4 separate regions of the Homo sapiens genome follow, and regions 2, 3 and 4 are each linked to region 1. The links are contacts of gene promoters, found by promoter capture Hi-C in blood cells and fetal thymus (Javierre and others, 2016). All regions are on one chromosome and are shown on one strand. Each heading gives the region's core, a stretch centred on a gene start or on the middle of the fragment in contact. The rest is flanking DNA. Distances are from core to core; before and after follow the strand shown. Region 1 holds the start of EHD3 (EH domain containing 3). Region 2 overlaps YPEL5 (yippee like 5). Region 3 overlaps LOC124907749 (a long non-coding RNA gene). Region 4 holds the start of LBH (LBH regulator of Wnt signaling pathway).

The links. The method cuts DNA at HindIII sites, captures the fragments that hold promoters and counts their contacts. A CHiCAGO score of 5 or more calls a contact.
Region 2: a fragment that was not itself captured here is called in contact with the fragment with the promoter of EHD3 in region 1 in 1 of 17 cell types (total B cells); the score reaches 6.9 in total B cells.
Region 3: a fragment that was not itself captured here is called in contact with the fragment with the promoter of EHD3 in region 1 in 1 of 17 cell types (M0 macrophages); the score reaches 5.8 in M0 macrophages.
Region 4: the fragment with the promoter of LBH here is called in contact with the fragment with the promoter of EHD3 in region 1 in 1 of 17 cell types (total B cells); the score reaches 5.1 in total B cells.

What each region holds. Positions count from the first base shown.
Region 1 is chr2:31,232,084-31,235,991 of GRCh38, reverse strand. EHD3 (EH domain containing 3) reads right to left here and starts at 1,840. Exons shown (of 6, transcript NM_014600.3): 1 at 1,144-1,840. The coding sequence starts at 1,370. It also overlaps a transcript of CAPN14 not described here. The HindIII fragment of the contact is 24,555 bases long and covers 1-3,908 here.
Region 2 is chr2:30,160,150-30,164,057 of GRCh38, reverse strand. It overlaps YPEL5 (yippee like 5), which reads right to left. Exons shown (of 3, transcript NM_016061.3): 3 at 3,525-3,908. Among named protein-coding and RNA genes, the nearest start is that of YPEL5, 15 kb to the right of the region's middle. The HindIII fragment of the contact is 1,456 bases long and covers 1,564-3,019 here.
Region 3 is chr2:30,199,955-30,203,862 of GRCh38, reverse strand. It overlaps LOC124907749 (a long non-coding RNA gene), which reads right to left. Exons shown (of 2, transcript XR_007086267.1): 2 at 1,623-3,329. Among named protein-coding and RNA genes, the nearest start is that of SNORA10B, 14 kb to the right of the region's middle. The HindIII fragment of the contact is 262 bases long and covers 1,696-1,957 here.
Region 4 is chr2:30,229,283-30,233,190 of GRCh38, reverse strand. It overlaps LBH (LBH regulator of Wnt signaling pathway), which reads right to left and starts at 1,657. Exons shown (of 3, transcript NM_030915.4): 1 at 1,427-1,657. The coding sequence starts at 1,452. RefSeq lists silencers at 658-717, 728-927, 1,318-1,407, 1,608-2,157 and enhancers at 1,961-2,475, 2,476-2,991. The HindIII fragment of the contact is 3,135 bases long and covers 111-3,245 here.

The DNA.
Region 1 (3,908 bases), core at 591-3,090:
CCTCTGCAGGAGATGAGCACACTTGACTTTGGGGGGCCACCAAACTCCATTCTCAAGCTGTGGGAGCCTGAGTCTTAAGACAGAGGGCCACAGCATTCTCAACAATTTGGAATGGCTATAAAAGGGGCCAAGAAAATGGCTGGCCTTGAAGTTGGGAAGATTGAGGACTGGAGTGAAGCCTGTTCTCTAAAGATAAGAAGGGCCTCTGGTGGACTTCTCTGAATGCAGGGTGAACAAATTGACTTCTTGAGCCTCCCTCCAGCCCAAGGATTCTGTAATTGAAGGGAATGGATGACTCATTCTCAGAGTTACAGGCGTTTAGCCAAGCATCTCCTCACATGCATCTAGGACTTAACATCCCAGGTCTGCTGCCCACTCTTTAGATGGCTCTGCACAATTCATTTAACTTCTCTGCGCCTCGGTTATCTCACCTGCAAACTCAGCAACTGGATGAGACAATGCCAATATCCCTTCCATCTCTAAGCGTCTTTAATATTATTATTAAGCCATTAAGATCAAATAAGAGAAAGGGGAAAAAAAAAGCATTCTGCTTCTGGACTCAGCTTCTGTTGAGTCTCCAAGATATATACACAGGAGCTCTGCTTTAGAGAAGGAAATGATAAAAGGAGGACAAGTAGCATCCCCAGGCCACCTCCGTTCCCAGGCCCGCACCCATCAGAACTCAGCTGCAACTGTGAGGCCCCCATGTGAGTGCCAAGCCCCTTGAAAAACAAGGGAAGAGGTTTTGCCCGTGAATGATGTGTTGCTAAAAAGTGAAGACGTAAGACATCCCCACCAACATAAGGCGCTCCAGAGACCAGGAGCTCTTCCATTGTGCCTCCTGGGCCTCGGTTTCATCATCCATAAGATGGGGAGACTGGGAATGGCTTTACACTTGAATACTTCAGGTTGACCACCACAGCCAAGGGCCAAGTAGAGTGGACAGGTATTGGGTAGGATGGGAAGGGGGACCAGCAAAAATTGTGGGGTAAGATTTTGACGCCTGCACAAACACAGATCTCTTCAGAGCCCTCAACTGAAGGCTTCCCATTGGTCCCCTGTCTGGGATGGAGCACCAGGAGTGACCGGAGGGACTAGGCGCTGGGCTCCGGGGTGGGCTGCCAGGACCCTGGGCCGGCTCACCTGATGAAGGTGGTCTTCCCAGTGGAGTACTGGCCCACCAGCAGAACCATGGGCTTGTTGTCGAAGTCGGCATCCTCCAGGGCGGGCGAGTGGAACTCGTGGAAGCGGTAATGCTCTTCCAAGGGCAGCAGCTTGCTCTTGTAGAGTTTCTTGAGCCCCTCACTCACCGTCTGGAAAACCTCGGGGTCCTTCCTCCGGCGGTCGTCCGTACCCAGCCAGCTGAACATCGCGGCCGCCGCTCGCCCCCGGCACGCAGCCCCAGGGGAAGACTCCTCCTCAGGGGAAGATGTCCCGTAGGACCGGTCCGCCGGGCTCCGAGCCGCGCCGCCGCCTCACCCAAGCGCGGGGCTCAGCCGCACCATGGCCCGGGCACGCGGCTAGGAGGGCCGGGAGCGCACTCTCCCTGCTCCTGGGACCAAGCCCAGCCGCTGCTGCATCCAGCAGCCCAGGCCGGAGGGAGGATAAATAATCTGGGCTTGAGGAGGAGGGGTGAAATCTTGGCAATTAAAGTTGAACCTGCAAGGAAACTGCCAGATGCCGGGGTCCCAAGCCGGGGTCCCCGATCGGCCCCCAGCCCTCGCCTGCTCTGCCCTGCGTGCAGCAAGGGATGCTTCGGCTCCGCTCCTGCCGGACCGAGGCGGCTCAGGGGAGACGGCGACGCTGCCCAGCCCGCGGACAGCTCTGCATCCGCAGCAGCATCCTGCAGCCCCAGGCGGTGGTTTAAATGCCAGCTGGGCAGGAAGCCGGCGCGCAGAGGAAGTCCCCTAGTACTGGCAAGGCAGGGCCGGCCCCACGGTTGCGGCGACGGGAAGCCGCGCAGGGCGCCGCCATGTTTGTGGGCAGGCGCTCAGCTCTAGACCTGCGGCCGCGCGGGGAGAGGGATGCTGACCCAGTCCAGTGGGAGAGTGCCGGTGTCTCAGTCTCCGCCTCTGGGGCTTCGATTTGGGAACAGCGCCCTCTCAGGGACGGCTGCGAGGACAGAGTTGACCTATTCATCACACTCCCTGCTTTGAATCGCCTCTCCTTCAGTTGCTGAGGTCAATTCCCTAGGAAAACAGGTACTCTAGTATTGGGGGATTTTTTTTTTTTTTGGCATAGAAAGGGGATCCACTATCAGGTTACACAAAATAACCAAAACTGTCACTACCCAAACTTTTAGCTAGGCTTAGGGTGAAGTCAAAATCGTTCCCATTTACTTATTCATTCATTCCAGCAAAACAAAACAAGCCAAGAAGCAAAATCCCTGCAAGTATTGGGAATTTATTATGGGGCAGTTACAATTTTGGTGACTGTGGATACAGAGATGAGTGCTGAACAGACTCTCCCTTCCAGGAACTCCAGTGAAGGCAGGCTTTAAAGAGGAGGCATGAGCAGAGGGTCATGGGAATACAGGGAGGAGTCACTCCTTTTGTGTGGCTAATTTGAGGAAGGCTTCATGGAAAGCATGACTGTAAGCTGGATCCTAAATGATGAATTGACATCCATTGTTCTAGGAGCGTAAGGAGTATTTGCAAAGGCTTGAGGAACTTGGTGTGTCCAAGGCAGAGTAAACAGTTTGGCATAGCTGGAGTGTAGGGTTTAGGAAGGTGAAAGAGAGTGAGGGAGGCCAAGCATGAAAGGCTTTGCCAGAGATGGGGAACCAATAGCAATGCTATTACTAATCATTGTTACATTAACAAAATGCTCAGCATGTGCAGGGGCCTGGGCTAAGTTCTCAGTGAACATTGCTTTATTTAACCTTCATGGCAGATCATATTATCTCCAGCATCATACTAAGGAGAGTGAGTGGGAACACTGTCCAGGTGTAGGCAAAAGCAGTGCATCGTGTGTAGAGAATTTAAACCCAATAATAAACTTGCTGAAAGTTGATGTGCTTTGTATTGGCACCATTCTAAACAGTGTAGTGATAAAACACTCCTCCCTGCCCAGGCTAATGACTCCCACTACCCTCCCTTCCACAGATGAAGAAGGAGTAGGCTATGGACCAGGCAGGAACTGGAATGCCAAGAGCAGTGTTGGAGGGGCAAAAGAGGTTGGGGGTTGATATGGTTTTGCTTTGTGTCCCCGCATAAATCTCATCTCTAATTGTAATCCCCATAATCCCCATGCGTTTAGGGAGAGAGCTGGTGGGAGGAGATTGGATCATAGGGACAGTTTCATTCATGCTGTTCTCATGATAGTGAGTGAGTTCTCGTGAGAGCTGATGGTTTTATAAGGGGCTCTTCCCACTTGGTTCCTCATACTTCTCTCTCCTGCCGCCTTATGAAGGACGTGTTTGCTTCCCTTTATGCCATGACTGTAAGTTTCCTGAGGCCTCTCTAGGCATGCAGAACTGTGAGTTAATTAAACCTTTTTCCTTTATAAATTACCCAGTCTTAGGTATTTCTTCACAGCAGTGTGAAAACAGACGAATACAGAGGCCAAGAGACCATTTAGGAAACTATTCCAAAACTTAGGAGACAGCTGCAATGGGATTGGAGAAGAGGTCAGACTCAAAAGATTTTTTTCATGGAATAGAATTGTCAGATCTTGGTATGTGATAAAAAAAAGAGGACATAAGGGTGAGGCACAGTCTAGGATGATTTTGAATTTTCTACCATAGGGGATAAGATCATTGGAGAAGCTCTTCCACTAATTAGGGGAGGCAGAGAGAGAGCTGATTTAGCAGACAGAGATAATGTGTTCAATCTAAAACGTGTTGCGTTTGAAGTGCCTGCAGGAGCTTCAAGAGGAGTGTGGTGAAGCTGCAGGGATTTCAGGGGAGG
Region 2 (3,908 bases), core at 1,042-3,541, 1.1 Mb after region 1:
CAAATCCTCATTTGCTGAAAGGTTTATCAGTACATGTTAAATCCAGAAAGGATTTAAAGAACTTTGAAAGCATTCTGGTCATTCTATAATTTAGAACAAATTAGGTTAAATTGTGAAGAGTTGTTCAGGATTACTGAAAAAAGTAATTACTCCAGATATATGCATACTGCTTATCAACAGGTTTTTATGTTCTATATTTCACTATGTTCTGACAAGATTTAAGACAAGGCTTGTTTTTACAATTCACACTTGAGAGAACTAAGATTCAGAGGTTAACTGACTTCCCAAAGTCACACAGCTAAAGTTAGTCAGCATTGATGTTTTTTTTGTTTGTTTGTTTGTTTTTTGAGATGGAGTCTTGCACTGTCGCCCAGGCTGGAGTGCAGTGGTATAATTTCGGCTCACTGCAACCTCTGCCTCCTGGGTTCAAGTGATTCTCCTATCTCAGCCTCCCGAGTAGCTGGGATTACAGGTGCTCGCCACCACGCACAGCTAATTTTTTGTATTTTTAGTAGAGATAGAGTTTCACCATGTTGGCCAGGCTGGTCTTGAACTCCTCACCTTGTCATCTGCCCGCCTCGGCCTCCCAAAGTGCTGGGATCATAGGCGTGAGCCACTGTGCCCGGCCGAAGATATGTCTTTATATTTTACATGTAGCAGTCTTCCCAGAAACTAGATGCCTCTTTCCCAGGGACTCTTCTGCTCCTTAAAGCCAGTTTATCTAATTGGTGTATTAATCCATTTTAAGACACTTTTTAAAGCAGATGGAAAGCCATATTAATCTGTTTTTTTTTTTCTTACCCATACTTCTTAGCCTATCAGCCTCTTGTGACATAGGCTTTTATCAGGTGGTAACATACCACAACTGTATTTTCAATAACCCTTTGAATAATGATTCTCATGTATTAGCAGATGTTTTGTAGCAGCAAGGTTGTATGAGGTGCCCATGAAAATGGGGCTCTCTTAACTATAGCACTGGCCATGACACGGGTAATGGGCATACATGGTGGGTGACTATCGGGGTCATCATAAAGCCAGTCCCACATGGCTTGCACATGAAGTATATTAGCTGCTTTATCTTGGGTGTTCTGCTTGGCATTTATAGGGGAAGTTGGACAGTCCCCATTCTCAGGGTAAACAGATCTTACAGTGGCTTTTTAAATCCAGTCCCCCAGACTAGCTGTTCCTCAAGAATAACCTCCTATGTGTCTGGATCATGTTTAGCCATCTGCAATCTTTCAATAGTGAGCTGTGGGTCCTCCATCAACCCAAACATTTCTTCCATTCTGCAGCATTTAAAACAAAAGATACTGCCCCTAAATTACTCTCATAGTCCATTTTAGTAAAGGTTCCTCAGGAAACTAATGATATGGATCTATGAAATGTAACAAATCCTTGTACATTATACCTTCTGGTTTCAAGTTACTTGGTTTTGCCTTTCCCCGACATTGACTACCTTCTTGGTAACCACAGATCTGAGAGGTATTTTGTTGTTGCTGCTTAACTTTGCCCTTGTGGGTAGCTCTGAGGCTAGTGGCTGAAGCTCAGCCTGAAACCTAAGCTTGGTGCAGCATCAAAGTTGGACCCAGCACTCTGTTTCATTTTAGCTATTATAGATAATAACCAAGGGATTGTAGAGTTCACTTTTCTTATTAGCTTGCATTTCCTTATGCATCCAGTCAATCACCTCTCTACGAGTTGGATCTATCTCTAAATTTTACTGGTAGTAACTGAGTGCAGCTGCAGCTCTATACCATGGGTGGCCATGTGGCCACCCAGGAATCAAAGGTTTCTGACCCATCACATTTCCATCATTTTTCTTGTCCACCTTTCTAAGCCAGGGCCCTTCTAGCAAATCCCACCTGTCTGATAGCAATCGGTAATCAACTTGACCTGCAGCCCCTTTCCCCTCCCGGGAGGTTGCTCTGTGAGGCTGAAAGCACCTCACCTTTAATCATGCCTGTATCTTTCCCGTGACCAGCTCTACCCTGGCTATCAGTCAATATTAGCATACAAAAAGATAATCATTTGAAAATTCCAAGGATTTTAGGGATTGTATTGCTAGGAAATGGAGACGAAGACCAGGAGACCAAATACGTATTTCACAGTATCAAAGAAACATGTTACTTTTGGAGTTTGGCAAAACAAAAAAACAAAAAAACAAAAAAAAAAAAACTGGATTTTTGGCTCCACCCGAGACCCATTCAGTACTGGGGAAGGGAATGAGAACATAATTGACATGTTTAACAAGCCTCCCAGGTGGTTATGCTGCAGATGATTTTTAAAACCTAAATATGTAAAGTGATGCCTAGGATTATACAACCCTGAACGATGCTTTGGAATGTGTATTTTATGCTTTACCACAGAAATTTCAATTTGAGAAGCCCAATATTTTAAAATAAGCCATACAATTAACACCCAACTTAGAATATCCACCCTAATTTCTGCTTAGTTCTGCTTTCTTCCTATAATAGATCTTATCAGTGCAACGTGCTAGCCTGATAAGAATCCTTCAGTTTAATCTTGCTTTATTCCCAACTCACACAGATTAGAAGTAAATTTATATGGCTCCTGGTAGGAAACAGGTGTTAAACAGATGAACAATTAGTGGATATCTGTTTAAACTGAGATTTTTTTATAACTGATGTTTAGAAATGAATCATCATAAACATGTCTGAATATTTTACAACTGGTAGTTTCTTAATTCTGCCCCACCAAAAATTACCTGTTGACTGACTTAAGCCTGGGCTTGGGCCCAGACTCTGATTTAAACATCCTATATGACTTTATGAGTAGGCAAATTTAGGAAACAGATGGTACTGATATTTTTCTCCTCCAATCCCAAAGTAACAACTCCTAACTGTAACTTAAATCTTCACATAATTACTAAAATTATTTTTACCAGGAATGTTCACTTGAGAGTCTAAATAAAAGCACTTTAAGATCAAAACAACTTACGGTTACTGTCACCTAAGACTAAGAGGAAGAATTTTCCTCTTCGGTCAGGGGAAAAAAAGCTTAAATCTGTATATTCCTCAGTAACCTACTTAGTTCTAAGTTCACCTCTACTTGTTTAACTCTCCCACCCCAAAGCAAAAATCATTCCTATTAATTAGTATCCCCATCTCAAAATAACAATGGTTTTCTGTAAATAATCCAAAGTAGACCTTCCAATATATATTTTTTTTTTTTTTGCAAATGGAAGTTTTTAAAAGGCACAGAGGAGCTTGCTGCTGGTACCTGCCAGTTACCTAAAAGTTAACCTAGTAATATGAAATTTTTTTGTTTATATATACTGAACTATAGTTATCAGTATCTAAGGCAAAATGATCTCAGAGAAGTTAATACTGGCAAAGTCAATGTCTTCATGTGTGAATTAGGCAGTTAATCAAGTCAGACATCACTATCATTGCCAAATGAAGAAAGCTACAGGTACTCAAAGATACCAAGTATGTGTTCAGAGATAAAAATTAAGATGATCACTAGACAAGATCAGTGGAAAATAAGCAGCAGTACTGCATCAATGCAAGACAAAATATACTTTATTGTGACAGCAAATGCACATAGTGCTGTAGGTAAGGCATGCTACTAGGAATCTGCATATAATCAAAAGCCAGTATGGAAATGAATGGAAATGAATGCTGTTGTTCTCAGATTGAGTCCATGGTGGAGAAAGGATAGTTTGTGTCCACTTATTTCAAATGCAGTATCATACCTACTTAATCAGTTACCTATGCTTCTAACCAACAGCCCAGTGGCAAATAGGAGGAACTTAACTGTACTCAGAAGTCACTTTTAATATCAACGACAGAAATATTTCACTAATTCAACTGAGGCAAATTTCCTTTCTAGACAAAGGACCTAGAAATTGAGCATGCAAAACATCCATCCATTCATTCATTCAAATA
Region 3 (3,908 bases), core at 577-3,076, 1.0 Mb after region 1:
TTTTTGAATTAATTAGTCCCAAAACCTTAAGCAAATCCCATCATTTACTGTGGCGTTGGTTTGTTTATTTTTTTGAATGAGAATATTAATAAGCCTTCTTTGTATTGTAAAGTGCCTGGCACACAGCAAATCGCCAATGGATTCTAGTTTTCTTCCTTCTTCCTTTTCAAATGAAGGGACTGGCCTTGGTACTGAGGCGTAAGTCATGAAGGTTTAAGATCGTATTACTGGCCCTCAAGTAGACTGACCATTCTCAGGCCAGGATTAAGATGCAGGGAGCCAAGGGCACCTCCAGCAGAGCTCCTGAGTCAATCAATGGCCACGTAGTTTTGTTCTCCACACCCAAGTGCAATTCCTCATCGGCTTCCTTGGCTCTCAGCTCTGTATACCCTTCTCCTCCATTTAGCCCAAGGACCTCCAAGGAGACAGGCTCACCTTGGCCCAGATGCAGTTTACTTTTCTCTGCTCTGAATTCTAGCCAAGAGTGAAAATCAAATGTACCAGCCTTGGGAACATCAGTTCCTCAGCCCCCTGGCAGCATTCCCAGCCTAGAGGGAAATGAAACCCCTAAGAGGAGCGTGTTCCGGGAGCCAGGACAAGAATGGTCCCTGGACTCCGCCATGTCTTCTCCAGCCTGCATCTCCTCTCTCCAGCCAGGAGAACACACCTCAAGAGTGGTCACGGAGGGTCTGAGCAATTCGGTAGAGAGGGGCCCTGGGCTAGGGTTCCCTGGCGTCCAGAACTGAATGCCTGGACTTCTGTTTCACTGAGCATTTCTTTCCCGACCTAGTACCAGTAAAACAAAAGCAGACCTGTTCCTGGCTTAAACATCAGGAGTAGAGATAAACATTGTCTTCCTTTAGATATTCTTCCCGAGATGTTTGGATTGTAGTTCCTTTTATGGATAAAACTTTAAATGCTGGTGCTCTTTAACCCAGCAATTCCATCTTCCTGAGGACAGATTCAAGGATCTGAACAAAGATGTACACAGATGTTCATGACATTGCCACTTATAATAATAAAAAATTGAAGACAGAATAATGTCCAACAATTGGGAAGCAGTTAAATAAATTATGATATATCTTTATGATGGGCAATTATACCCATTAGAGTGATGTTTTCCAAGAATTTTAATGGCTGGGAATATATAAGAATCTTGTGAAGAGAAAAGTGGGATTCAGAACTACATAAACTAATTATATAATACACGTGTGTATAATATATACACCCATGTAGAATAATATGATATGCATATGTATACATTTATAATATATAATGGAAAAATATGTGAAAGAAAAAACCATAAATATTAACAGTCCCTATCTGTGGATTATTTAATTATAGTTTTATTTGTTTCCTTATTTAATCTTTTCTATATTTTCCATGTTTTCTTGTCAGAATTTAAAAATATACTTGATAGGGGAGAAATGTTTGTTTGAATAAAAGGGACACAATTAAACTCCATCAATCAGTACCCATCATGAAGGGTACAGGTGACTCCATGAATTTGCAGAAAGAATTTTGAAAAGAACACTAAGAGCCCAGGATATCAGGCAGACGTAAAATCTAGCTTTTAGTGTCTCCCCCATATCAGTTTTGGTTGCATAACAAAATCATGTGACTAAGAACAACAATAATTTATTCAGTTCCTGATTCTGGGCTTAGCTGGGAGGTCCTTTCAGTCTGGGCTAAGCTTGGCTGTTGTTCCCTGGACACACTCACTTGTCTGGGGCCTCAGCCAGGATGATCTGGGGCCTCTCTCCATGTAGTGTCTTTTCTTTTAGGCTTGTCCCATGTGGCAAAACTAGATTTTAAGAGAGAACTGAAGCTATAAAGTCTCTTGAGGGCTATGCTCAAAACTGGTGAGCTGTCACTTGCATGGCATTCCAAAGCAAGTCACAGGCCAGCCCAGACTCAAGGGGTGAGAAATAGACTCCGTCTCTTGACGGGAGAAGCTTAGGGTACTTCGACCTTGTTGGCAGATTACAATATTCTTGTTCAGTGAAACTCCATTTCCATGAAAATAGCTCTTGATAAGATGAAAGTTTTTAAAAAACGTAATGTCAAATCTTGAAATCATCTGTGGTAACTTATACCTAAATAGTATTAGTCTGTGGTTGTCACCTTTTCTTTTTTTAACCAAGCAGGGCCTAGTCCATTAGTGCTGATGGATTTGTTACATGAGTTAAAGTGGTGTGTATATAAAATATTTGTAATAGTGCCTGGCAAATACTAATCACTATCAAAATATTAGTTATCATTATTGTTAATGTTGATTTTTATACATAATCTGTGGTGAACTCAAATTCTAAACGGAGTTTGGGGTAGAGAGGGGCTATTTCTGCTGCCTGTAAGAAGTGCATCCCTGGCCGGGAATGGTGGCTGATGCCTGTAATCCCAGCACTTTGGGAGGCCAAGGTGGGCAGATTATGAGGTCAGGAGTTTGAGACCAGCCTGGCCAACACAGTGAAACCCCGTCTCCACTAAAAATACAAAAAGTTAGCTGGACATAATGGTAGGCACCTGTAATCCCAGCTACTTGGGAGGCTGAGGCAGGAGAATTGCTTGAACACAGGAAGTGGAGGTTGCAGTGAGCCAAGATTGTGCCATTGCACTCCAGCCCGGGTAACAGTGCAAGACTCTGTCTCAAAAAAAAAAAAAAAAAAAAGAAGTACATTCCAATAACCCCTGCTCTCAGCCACGTTTGGAGACGCTCAGATGTCTATATGCATTCTTGGCTCCATTCCCTTCCCGCAGGGACCAGGTTTTTGCTGGGAATACAAGTCTATCCTCAAAGAGATTTGTGTCTATAGCAAGACAGCCCTCCGCCTGGAGCCCTGGATTTTTACCCACACCAGCACACACTTGCATCATTTGCTGCTAGCCCTAAAGGCAGGGAAAGACATGAGCAGTAGAACTGAAGGGGCCAGGGAGACCTCCAACCCTGCTGTACACTTGTGTAAGCTTGGCCACATTCCTATGGGAGAGGCTATCCTTACGTGAGTTTGGTGCCTATGTACATCACTTTAACCAGAAATACTAAGGAATTTTCAGAATTCCCTTTCTTGTACTGTTCTAGGCTAGGGTTGGCCATAAGAGGAGTTCATGAGATTTGGAAGTGGAAGTGAAATAGCAGCCATTTCTATGCTCTGAAGGTTGATGTGGGCTCAAGCACACAATTGCTGGTCTCCTGGCCACCTTGTGAGCGTGAAACAGCAGCTGAGTCCACAGCCCTTATTGGTCTTGTCGAATCTTCTGCTTCTCCAAATCCTGGGCCAGCTTGTGCAGCTCTGTGGGGCACCAGTGAATCCTGCAGGTCACTTGCATCACTGAAAGAGAGTGAGACAAATGTGAGTTCCAGTTTGTCCTCCAGGGTCCCAGTTTGTCTTCATGGGTTCTAATCTAGTCTTACTCTCCCCCTCTTCACACTCATCTCTCCTTTCCAACTGCTGGCTCTACTGACTTAGGACCAACACTGGACATGGCAACAGCTGCATTGGGCAGACTGTTGAATCAGCTCCCACAATTGTGTAAGGTCTAATTCCCCCAAATGTCTTCATTCTATATCACTCATAGTGGCTCTTCCTTTTCGATCAAACCCCAGTGGATATATTGAGGGGCTCAGTGACACACAATGACACATAGTGTCAGGCTTTGATCCTAAGACACTCTACAAACCCATCCTCCCTCCATGATAGTGCCACCATGTCCTCCTCTTTTTAATCTTTGGCTAACTTATTCTACCACAAAACTGGCCCAGTTTCTGTAGCAAACCAATAGGTTGGAGAAAAATTGGAGTGAAGAATGGGAGAGGGTGGACTGCTAGGTTATAAGAGAATTAAGAGACAGAATCACCAAATGCAATGTGTAGACCTGATTCAGGTCCTAATTAGAGTAAACCATCTCTA
Region 4 (3,908 bases), core at 408-2,907, 1.0 Mb after region 1:
GAAATAAACTTAAACCTTAATTTCTCATAATATTCTTAATGGGTCCAAACACCCACCTTGGCAAATTTTGAGCAGCCAAAGGCACAAAGCCTCCAACAGCCTTCAAAGCTTCACCTATAATAAGGCACCTAGCTGCTCACACACCACGGGAGAGGCAAGGGAGGGGCACCCACAAGAAGGGTACACAAGCCTCGGGGTGGGGGAACTTGAACTGTTGAGAGAGGGAAGTTCAGTCCCCTCTCTAAACACTGCCAGGCTGGGACGGATGGGGGCAGGGAGACTAACAGAAGATGCGGGGCTTTGCGGCAAGTTTAGGTTCGGGAGCTGGGCCCTGCAAAGGCAGTTTCCTCCCGGGTCTTGGAAAGGCTGCTGGCGACCTCCAAAGAAAGGAGCCAGAAGAGCGCACGCAGGGTGAAGAGTCTGACGTAGGGGCGGCTCTTCCTCGCTCGGGGCTGTGGCGCCGGCCCGAAAAGTTGAAGCGAGAAGCATGAACTTTCCGCTTCTTGGGCCAGGCCGGACCCCGCCGCGGCTTGCGCCGGTTTTCCCTTCGCTCAGCGCCTGCCGGAGACTCGGGGCCGAGCTCCCCACGTCCGCACCTGAGAGCGCGCTCCGGGGCTGCCGGCGCTCGCCCCCGGCCGCTTCTCCTCTAACCCAGAGCAGGAAGGAAGAAACTGCCAGCAAGGAAGTCCCAGCAGTCAGGGGCCTGCCTCTCTCTGCATCCCTCCCGGCTCCGATCCCCAGTCCGGGGCAAACCTCCGACGCCCCGCGCCCGGCCCGGGCTCCTTCCCCTTCAGCACGGCGAAGGCGGCTCCTCCCAGTCCCGGCCCCCACCAATGTGCGTCGGTTTTTAGGGGCGGTGGAGAGGGCAGGGGTTGAGAGGCTGCAGCGCGTGCCCTGCTGCTTGTGGCTTTAGTGGGGTTACGTGTGGGGAGAGCGTTTCCCGCCCCCCACCCCCCCGGAGCTCTGCAAACCCTGCGGCCGCACCAGCTCAGCCCCGCTGCTGCCGGCCTCGACGTTGAGACTTGCATGCAAACAAAAAGAAAAAGAGGAGGGGCCCGGGAAGAGCAGGAGCCCCCCTGCGCCAAGTGGGGCGCGCGCCTCCTGCAGCTCTCCGCATAGGGTGGTTTCATTGGGGGGGATTCACACGTGACCCCTGGCTCCCCCGCCAACCAATACAAACCCTCCGGCCGTCACTTAGGTGAGGGCTCCGAGTTCACGTCCTTTGTCTGGATGTTCTCAGCACCCCCTCCCCCCACCCCCACCTTTGCAACCTTGACGTTGACTCCTGCACGGGCTCGGGCGGCGGGTTAGCGCTGAGCGCCCGCGCCGCCGGCTGCCCTCGCACCCGGAGCCGGCACGAAGCAGGCGCCCGGGCCCGCAGCCACCGCCGCGAGACAGACGCCCGCCGCAGGCGCAGGGTACTCACCAGTGAATGGGGAAATATATAGACATGAAGTCCTAGGGCAGGCTGACACACGCCCCTGTGATTTAAAAACGGTCCCTGCGTCCCGAGTGAGGATGACACGGGCGCAGACGGGCACGGCAGGCGGCCGAGTGCGGACACCGGGCGCTCGCCGTCCGCCTTCCCAGGACAGCCCCACGGCTAGCGACGTCGGCAAGGTGGACACAACTCCCCGCTCTCCACTGAGCACTCAGCCCCACAAAGAGCCCGGGAAGCCGTATTTATAGGGGCGGGGGCGGGGCTTGGCCCCGAGAGGCCCCGCCCTCCCTCGCCCACTCCTGGAATAACGTCACCAAAATCATGAATGGCTTCAGCGCTCGCAGCTCCGGCGGGCGGCGGCTCGGGGGCGCGCTCGGCTCTGCTCCCGGGGCCGTGGTTCGCTGCGGCTGCGAGCCCGGCCCCCTCCCGCCGCTCTCCCACGCGCACACGCGCTCACTCGCACCGGCCCGGACTCCGCGTCCGCGCCGCTTCCCGCTCACAGCCCCCTCCACGCACACCCCGAACTCCAGCGCGGCGGAGGTGGGCGCAAGGAGGGCGCGGGGGCCGCTCGGGACATGACAGCTCGGCGGCTGCTCTGCGCCGGGGTAGGGCACCCGCCACTCCTCCACCCCAGCCGCCCGGCGCCAGCGCCCTCCTTCCCATCCACTGGCTGTCCCCAGCCCACCTCGGACCCCTCTGAAGCGTTTGTTCCCCATACTAGGCCTCTCTCTGGAATCCTCGCCCGCAGCCTTGCGATCAGCGAGGGGAAACAAGAGCATGGTTAAAGAAGAAGCGGTGGGAAGGTGGCAGAGACGCGGAGCCGGGGGACCGAGTGCCCACGGGGCGCGTTGGCTTGCGAAGGGCTGGTCTGCAGCCCTGAGTTCCGTGGAAGGTTTTATTTGTGGGAGCAAGGATGTGGTGTCGTCCTGGGTAGGATTTTTCCATTGGAGACACACATACGCCCGGTCTGCAGCGGGGGCAGAAGGTGTGGGCGGGCGGTGTGCACGCCGCCCCCCATCCTTGACTCCCACGTCTTCTCCGAGGAGTCGCTCATGACAGCAGAAACAAAGAGCTTTAGCCGAACGCCTCCCACACTGCCCAGGAATTGCAGCTCTGGGCGTCTGTCCAGGCAGTCAAAGCTGCGCAGCCCCCCAGAGCCACATGATGGGAGTCTCACTCGGGACCCAGCGCTGCCGCTCTGTGGCCTCCGCTTCAATCACGCCTGTAAAATGGCTTTAGAACCCTCACCTACCTGTGTATAGGGGCTGAGGAAAGGGGGCGCGGGGAGATCAAAAACTAAGCAAAATTAAATTGGCTTTGAAGTGAATCAGCTTTTTAAAAGAAAGGCAGTGAGTGTATTGAATCCGTATATATGTACTTGAAAGTGGAAACGCATAGCTTATCTCAGGCAAAAGGATGACAGAATTAATGGCGAAGGTTCGACAGGGGTAGGACCCTGAAGGAAGCCGTGAGAGAAGACCCTCATAATTTTCATCAGTCCCCGCAAAACCAGCCCAAACAAAAATTATAAGAATTGATGAGAATAATTTATTTAAAAATAACTGGGCTATTTTCAATCACTTATATGCTTATATGTACAACCTGAGTTAAAATAGTGTGCTTCCTATGAAAACACAGCTTCATGACAAGCCCCTGGCTGCCCCCTCCAACCAGAGAAATTCCCCCACCTCCCAAGCTAAACGCATTCTCTTCCTCTGGGGGTGTTGCCTGATGGAGGGGCTAAACGGGAGATGCTGCAGGGATGGGGTTATTGTTGATGTCCTGCACAGAGGGTGGGGAAGCTTCTCAGTGTCACTAGCCAGGTGTGGCACATTGTCATCTAGGCAGCCACAGGAGACGCCAATGCTTGGAGAGCTAGTTTCCAGGCTGAGACTTCCAGGCACTCAGAGGAAAATGTCTGGGCTAGACCCCGGGTGGGCAGGATGAAGCCTTCTGCCACTTCTTCCCAGTAGCAATCTCTGGTGAGGCTGGGATCAAAGACTGTTGCGCCACTTTTACACATAACAGACACACTTTATGTGTTTGTGATTATTGCCATGTGAAGCTTTCAAAACTCAGAAAGCTATTTCCCTCCCTCCCCATTTTCCCAAATATCTAAATGTCAAAATGGCCTCATTTTGGAGAAGAGGGTGGGGAGTAAGGCCTCCACCAGCTGTTATCTGGCCTCTGGAAAAATCCTCTACATTGGAGTGCATTGAGGGAATTACCTGAGGCCTACTCTTTGGGAAACTTATTAATGCCCATTTTAGCTAAAGTTCATCTCTGTCAGTAAGTTAAAATAGAAATAAGCCTGGGGTTGTGATCCCCAGTCTGCATTTTCTGTTTCTCCTCTGGAATCACAGTGACACATCCATTCATTTGAAAATATGGGAGGTGGCTGGGTGCGGTGGCTCACGCCTGGTAATCCCAGCACTTTGGGAGGCTGAGGCAGGTGGATCACCTGAGG